Linked DNA regions of Homo sapiens: region 1 is linked to region 2. The links are contacts of gene promoters, found by promoter capture Hi-C in human tissues and cell types (Jung and others, 2019). All regions are on one chromosome and are shown on one strand. The core of a region is centred on a gene start or on the middle of the fragment in contact, and the rest is flanking DNA. Distances in the headings are between cores, read along the strand shown.

Region 1 (3,865 bases), core at 130-2,629, 68 kb after region 2:
ATATCTCATGAATAAATTAATGCCCTCCTGCAGAAGTGAGTGAGTTTTTATTCTCTCATGGGAATGGATTTGTTCCCACATGACTGAGTTGTTTTAAAGAAGTCTAGTATCCTCAGTTTCTCTCTCTTGCTTTCTCTCTCACCATGTGATCTCTTTGCACACACCTGCTCTCCTTCTGCTTTCTGCCATGAATGGAAGCAGTATGAGGGAGGCCCTTACCAGATGCAGCTGCCCAATTTTGAACTTTCCAGCCACCAGAATTATAAGCCAAACAAACCTCTTTTCTTTATAAGTTATCCAGCCTCAGGTATTCTGTTATAGCAACACTAAATGGACTAAGACAGTCATCTTTCATGTAAAAGGTATGCATGACTTGAGCATTTCTTACAACTTCTATCATAGTCTAGGCAGCAGCTTGTTCAAGGAGAATTCTAGTCATGCATGGTCGGCTGCAGTTCTGTGTTCGTCTAGGTTTATATTGAGCCACTGGAGTTTAGCTTGCAGGGCTGCCTCAGATCCTGGAAAAGAGGGCAAGCTCCAAGACAACTTAGAGTCCCAATAGGGATTTGGGCAGTCGGGTTTTAGTTCTCAGTGACTCTGAGTCAGGTGGGAGGGAGAAAACTTGGAAAAGTTAGTTTGGAGGATATTAGCAAGATATTGAAGTAACCTAGAAGAACTGAAAATTTGGTAAAGATTGACAATTTGGACAAGTTAACAAGATCCAGTTTGATTTACAAGTAGGTGCCAAAACTGGTTTTTCCACAGAAGAAAAGGAAGTCAATTATCTAATTTTTTTTTTTTTAAACAGAGTCTCTTCACCCAGGCTAGAGTGCAGTGGCACAATCATAGCCCACTGCAGCCTCAGACTCCCAGGCTGAAGCAATCCTCCTGCCTCAGCCTCCTGAGTAGCTAGGACTAAAGGTGCATGCCCAGCTAATTTTTAAAACTTTTTGTGAAGATGAGGACTTGAATTCCCAGCCTCAAGCAATCCTCCCACCCCAGCCTCCCAAAGTGCTGGAATTACAGCATGAGCCACTGCGCCTAGCCCTAAGGAAGTCAATTATATCTCCACCAGACAAGATAAAGTTTGCCTATCCATCAGTAACCTGTAGCTTATAAGTAGGTACCAAATAGCTCAAAGACAGTGAATAGGACTAGACTCTGATAACCTAGAGTGGTGTGCCATAGATGAGGCAGAGTTTTCTGCTGAAACACAAAATTTCTCTCTATAGTCACTTCCTTTTGACTAAAGATAATCTCAAGAAAGATTATTCTTGAACGCAAAATAAGGCTGGTCTCAAAAAACAAAAGAAAAATAGTTAAACTGGAGTTCATCAAAATGTAAAGCTTTGGGGCTTCAAAGGATATTTATCAACAAAGTGAAACAACAACCTGCAGAATCGGAGAAAATATGTGCAAATCATATATCCAATAAGTGTGTGACATCCATAATATAAAAAGAACTCTTATAACTCAACAGCAAAAAAAAAATTAAAAAATTTTTAAATTTTTAAAAATTTTAAAAGATTAAAAATTTAAAAATGGGCAAAGGACTTGAATAGACATATCTCCAAAGAAGGTCTACAAATGGACAACAAGCTCATAAAACAATGCTTGACATCATTAGTCATCAGGAAAATGCAAACCAGATCCACAAGTAGATACCACTTCACACATACTAGGATGGCTAGAATTTAAAAACAAAAATAACTGGAAAATAACAAGTGCTGGTGAGGACGTGGAGAAATTGAAGCCCTTATACACTGCTGGCGAGAAAGTAAAATGGTGCAACTACCGTGAAAAACAGTTTGGTCGTTCCTCAAAAGTTAAACATAGAATTACTATATGACCTAAAAATTCCACTTCTAAGTATAAATATTCAAAAGAATTGCAAACAAGTACTCAAACGAATACTTATGCACAAATGTTTATAGCAGCACTATTCACAATAGCCATACAATGAAAACAACACAAATGTTACCCATTCGTCAACAGATGAATGGATAAACACAATGTGGGGTGTGTGGGTGTGTGTGTGTGTGTGATGGAATATTATTCAGCTCTAAAAAAAGAACAGAGTACTGGCACATGCTACAACATGGATGAACCTCAAACACATTATATTAAGTGAAAGAAGCCAGACATAAAAGATCACATATTGTGTGATTACACATATAAAATATCCAAAATAGGTAAATCCATAGAGACCCAACACAGATTACTGGTTGTCAGAGGCTGGAAGGCGGATGAGAGTGTAAGAAGTGAATGTTTAATAAGCATGGGTTTTCTTTTGAGGTAATGGAAATGTTTTAGAACTAGGTTGAGGTGAAGGTTACACAGTATTGTAAAGGTACTAAATGCCACTAAATTGTACACTTTAAAATAATTAATTTTATGTTATGTAAGTTTTGCCTCAATAAGAATATTAAAAAGTAAAAATTAAGTCTCATTAGATTTAGCTTGATTATTTACATAGGCACAGTAAGAATGGTAATTTACCAAATAGACCTTAAGCTTGCTTTGCTCAAAGTTTTCATAAGGAATCTGAATTTGAAATTTTAAAAGCCTATCAAGCTAAGAAGATTTTACTTGCTGCATCTATAAATGTGGGAGAACTGTTCTCTTTTTGAGGTCGACAAAATATCCTAAGCTTCTAAGACTTGCCAGGAAGTAACCTTCCTTACTCAGTTGTAAGGCTGAGAACCCTGTAAGTCAGGTACCAGGCTAGTTTTCCCAAGAGGGCTTTGTATGCATTGGCTCCATAAAGTCAGCCTTAGTTCCTTAAAAGTGTCTGATCATATCTGATTCAGTGAGCATCATTCACAAATATGGCATTCCAGGTAAGGCCTTGGTTACATACCAATGTTTCTAATCATGATCTGGTAAGAAGGGCAGACAGATTTTTATTGAACCAATGCAGATATTTATATTGCTATGAAAATAAGAATACTCAATGAGAGTTTCCAAATCCTGGAGAACTCAGGGGTATAAGATATCATTTACAAACATTTCATTTCAGTTTACAAAAGCATGGTCTACTAGATAGTTATGAATTATAGATAGTGTAAGAGAAAAGAGAAATAGGAAGTGAGTTTCTTATATATCCAGAAAACAGAATATTAAAGCTTTAGCAATATTCCAAACAAAACCCAAATCATCCCTTCTATCATTCAGGTCTATGTAATTAGTTCTTTTTCCACTCCACCTTGGGTTAGCACTATCTTATTAACACACTTGCTTCTCAACTAGAGTTCTCAAAATCCTGCCTCAGTTCACTAGTGTGGTCTCAAAGTTGTTTAAACCATCTCATCATAAGCCTGTACACAAAAGTACCTGGCATAGTTCTTTTCCACGGGACTCTGAAAAAGTGCTTTGTTGAAGATGAAGCCCTCTAGCTTGTAGCTGATGCAAGTGCTTTCAGGGAAGCATTGGTGTAAAACATAAAAAGCTGTCTACCTGTAGCTGATAAAAGACTTACAACAGCTATGGTTAACTTATTGCTGATCATTTTCAAAAGGGAAAAATACAATAAGAGTTCATTACAAGAATAATAAAGCAACTGACAAAGAGGTGTAGTTTCTGTGGTATGGAAAATGAGATAAAAGTCAATCCAAAAATTTTTTTTGACAAAATATCTTTTATTTATTTATTTTTTTTGAGACAGAGTCTCACTCTGTCACCCAGGCTGGAGTGCAGTGGCGTGATCTCAGCTCACTGCAACCTCCCCCTCCTGGGTTCAAGCGATTCTCCTGCCTCAGCCTCCTGAGTAGCTGGGACTACAGGTGCATGCCACCACGCCTGGCTAATTTTTTTTTCGTATTTTTAGTAGAGACGGGGTTTCACTGTGTTAGCCAGGATGGTCTCA
Region 2 (4,275 bases), core at 61-2,560:
GGCTTCAGTGTCAGGCTGACCTAATTTTGAATTCCTACTTATCTGCTTGTTAAGTATGTGATTTTGAATGTTGTTTCTCTAAACTGCATCTGTAAAATGGGTGTATTGCAACCTCCTTTATAGGACTGTTGCAAGGATGAAATGAGATAATATGGCCAATGTGCATGTCACAATCTTCAATAAATGTTTAAAGTCTAAAAAGCAAGCCAGACTTTAAATATAGTAAGGATATTAGGTTGTCCCAGTGGTGTTAGTCAGTCAGTTTAGGTTGCCATGAGAATTAAGATCCTGAGCACTGGCCAGCTTGTATCAGATCATAGGGGCCTCCAGGAACCTCCAAATGCTGATGGTAATTCTAAAACCGCCTCAGATAGTCTTAAACTGGACCCTCACACCAAACCTAAAATATTTCCCTAATCTATGTTTAGCTGCAGAAACAAGAGGAGGTAGGAGGAGAAGAGCTGCAGTTTCCAAACACCACTGCTTGCAACCTTCCTACCACATGAATGTTCAAGGAGTTACATTTGACATCATTGCTTGATCGGAATCTACCAAGCAATTTCCACTGCACCAGCCAGTCTCTTGGGAAAGTACTATCAGATTTGCCAGAGTAAATTATTGAGATTGTTAACTCTCATGTGGACATGGATAGTTAATGATGAAAAGAAATGAACTATAAAATTGCATCACAGAATTTACTGTGTAAACTTTTCAAACCATTTGTGCCATTAAATAGCGCCCCCACCAAAAAAAAAAAAAAAAAAAAAAAGCCTATCCTTAGGATAGGCAGCTGATGTAGCTGGATGGTGGGGGCTCTAGGTGGCCACGTTCTATCTGTGTTTATATGGTTAAATGGATGAAATGGATGTGTTTGCAGATTGAAACAATTCATAAAGAGTTGAGGCTACTTTTTTTTTTTTTTTTTTTTGGTCTTAGCGCTGAAACTAAAAATCGCGGTTATTTTAGTGTTTAGCCCCGGCTCTTCCGTTGCTCAAACCTCCGGAAACTACATCTCCCAGCATGCTGTGAAACTGGTCTGACTTCATCTCAAATGGCCCCGTAGGGCAACAAGGATGGTTAGTTTTGACCCTACTTATTTGTGCCATAAAAACAATCGATCCTAATTGACAGCTATTTGGACTTTTACATCTGCCAAACCCTTTTCCTTGAACTGTGGTCACTAAATGAGGGGAGTCTGGTCTGGGAAGTCCCATCCATTCCTTCAATAGGATGGGGAGCGGTGATAGTGTCTCCGGCGATCTCAAGAATAGGAGGGAATGTTGACCAGGGAGCACCGCTGCGGCCGATCAGAGGAGCAGGAACTGGAACCCTGGCCGAGTCCGAAAAAAGCCAGATCTGGAAGGTGGCTGCGGAACGGTTTTAAGCGGAAGATGGAGGAGCCGGAGGAACCGGCGGACAGTGGGCAGTCGCTGGTCCCGGTTTATATCTATAGTCCCGAGTATGTCAGTATGTGTGACTCCCTGGCCAAGATCCCCAAACGGGTAAGGGAAGTCGGGATGAAAGACCATGGGCTTTGGGGGTGGGGGTGGGGGCGGTGGACGAAAGAGCGTTAGGAAGCGGAGAGGACACTGGGCTGGGGGAAATCTTCAGAAATTTCGAGTAGCTGTATCAGATACCTAAAGCTGTATCAGAAGGAAGTGTTCTCATATCGTTTCTGAGAGCGCAGCATGTCTCTTCGGGACGTCCAATGGACAGGTAGGAGTGGGGGAGGGGGTACGGAGGAGGGGAGAGGACGCAGTTTCCACTCATAGGGGACCGCTGAAGTCGTGGGAAAACAAGCTGCAGGGGGAAGGTGTTCCATCACCTGCCTAAGGCCCGGTAGCTTTCACCTTAGTGATTTTGATACTTTGTATCTGTATTGTCTAAAGTGTATTGTAACTGTTAACAGAAGGGAAGCCAGTTGAAACAAAATTAATCCGTTCCTTTGTTCAGGATGGTGAGATTGACGGGGATTTTGCTGAATTAAACTTTAAAGAGACTATTTCTGCTTTTCTTTTTTTTTTTTTACGCTGATGTTTTTAGGCCAGTATGGTGCATTCTTTGATTGAAGCATATGCACTGCATAAGCAGATGAGGTAAGTTGTCTTTCTTGAACATAGCCCTGAAGCTAGGTGTTCGTAGCCTTAATATCCTGCTTCACAGTGGGGCAAGGAAAAGAATGGTCTTTTGAAAAAATTATTTTAGCTTTCTGTGAAAGTATTCACAGTGTTTGTAATCTGCCTGTAATCCCAAGAAAGCTCTTGAAGAATTAAGAAAACTTGGGGGGCCGAGAGCATGGCTCACGCCTGTAATCCCAGCACTTTGGGAGGCCTAGGTGGGTGGATCGCCTGAGGTCAGTAATTTGAGACCAGCCTGCCCAACATGGCAAAACCCCGTCTCTACTAAAAATACAAAAAAATTAGCCGGACGTGGTAGCGGGCGCCTGTAATCCCAGCTACTCGGGAGGCTGAGGCAGGAGAATCGCTTGAACCCCGGAGGTGAAGGTTGCAGTGAGCCGAGATTGCACCATTGCACTGCAGCCTGGGCAACAAGAGTGAAACTCCGTCTCAAAAAAAAAAAAAAAAAAAAAAAAAAAAAAGAAAGAAAGAAAGAAAAAGAAAAGAAAACTTGGGACAGGGGAGTGGAAAGTGCAGGAAGCAGTTAAGGTTCATTAGAAATACAGCTCGATTGCTTGGTTAAGTATCCCAGGGGTAGGTGCAGTGCATTGTGGAGATTTTGAGTACATTTGGGTATTAAAACCTGTCTCATACAAAAAGGTGTTCAGCTAGGAGGTGTTCCATTTTTCTTTTGATTTCGTTTCATTCTAAGCCAGATTTGAGGGTGTGAGTTCAACCTAAGACTTTTAGACAACCCACCACCAGCACCAAACTTTAATGGGTGAGGCTGGAGACAGATCAAGACCAAAGAAGGCCGGGCGTGGTGGCTCACGCCTGTAATCCTAGTACTTTGGGAGGCTGAGGCAGGCGGATCATGAGCTCAGGAGATCAAGACCATCCTGGCTAACACGGTGAAACCCCGTCTCTACTAAAAATACAAAAAATTAGCCGGGCGTGGTGGCAGGCGCCTGTAGTCCCAGCTACTCGGGAGGCTGAGGCAGGAGAATGGTGTGAACCCGAGAGGCGGAGCTTGCAGTGAGCCGAGATTGCGCCACTGCACCCCAGCCTGGGTGACAGAGTGAGACTCCGTCTCAAAAAACAAACAAACAAAAAAGACCAAAGAAAACTGCCAAGACTGCGCCAGAACTCAAGAGAGAGCTAACTGTTTCTTCCAAAAACATGAACTTGCTGTTTATTGCCATTTCTGTATTTGATGTCGTTATAAGAGCAAATATAACCCTGCCACATATAGGATTACTTATGACAATTTCTGGCCAAATAGGTGAGTGCTCATACCAACTAGTGTGCTATGCTTCATTTATCTCCCAGAAGGTAGTGTAATAATAGGCTTTCAGATTTTATCCTTATTATTAACAAAATCATTTTGTACCTTTTAAAGGGAATTTTTAAGCCTTTTTTTTTTTTTTTTGATGGAGTCTTGCTTTGTCGCGCAGGCTGGAGTGCAGTGGCGCGATCTCGGCTCATTGCAACCTCCGCCTCCCAGGTTCAAGCGATTCTCCTGCCTCAGCCTCCCGAGTAGCTGGGACTACAGGCACGTGTCACCACACCCATTTTAAGCCATTTTTTAACCCATATGGTTTGGTTAACATAGTAACTATATGCCTTCCATTAAAGTTATTTAACATTTCAAAAAATTATTTTATGACAAACAAGATATCAAAGCAAAGCAAAACTGTCCAGTTTGCTTACTGTTAAATAGGGAGGTTTTCAGTAAGTGTTTTTTAACATTTACCAAAATAAATGGAAGGGTACTAGAAGAGGGAGCTTTTAGGACTGGGAAATACGGTCCGAGATATTACAAAATTTTTATTTTAATGGGTAGATTTTTCACCTCTGGTGGTATAGATTTGTCTTCTTTAAGAAGAAGCAAGAATTCTTGGGTCTTGGCTATGTATTTCACTTTTGAGGCCAAACCACAGGATTTCTTCCAGCTACCTTGGTGATAGTAGTAGCCTGTATAGTCGTATTCATTCATCGTAAACTCATGGCTGTGTTCCCATTCAGCAGACATTTAAAACCACTGCTGCCTCCCTGTGGCCCAGGTCAGGGCTCCTTCAACTTGAATGTGTATATGAATCACCTTAAAATGTGTCATCTTGTTTAAAAATCATCATGTTAAAATACAAATTCTGACTCA

What was found. Contacts are between HindIII fragments. The study calls those that stand out against the background at their distance.
Region 1: a fragment that was not itself captured here is called in contact with the fragment with the promoter of HDAC8 in region 2 in 2 of the 25 tissues and cell types used here (adrenal gland and ovary).

Annotation. Positions count from the first base shown.
Region 1 is chrX:72,502,718-72,506,582 of GRCh38, reverse strand. All of the region lies in intron 4 of HDAC8 (histone deacetylase 8), which reads left to right. Among named protein-coding and RNA genes, the nearest start is that of HDAC8, 68 kb to the left of the region's middle. The HindIII fragment of the contact is 5,612 bases long and covers 1-3,865 here.
Region 2 is chrX:72,569,878-72,574,152 of GRCh38, reverse strand. HDAC8 (histone deacetylase 8) reads left to right here and starts at 1,310. Exons shown (of 11, transcript NM_018486.3): 1 at 1,310-1,502; 2 at 2,044-2,096. The coding sequence starts at 1,392. RefSeq lists an enhancer at 1,218-1,347. The HindIII fragment of the contact is 13,628 bases long and covers 1-4,275 here.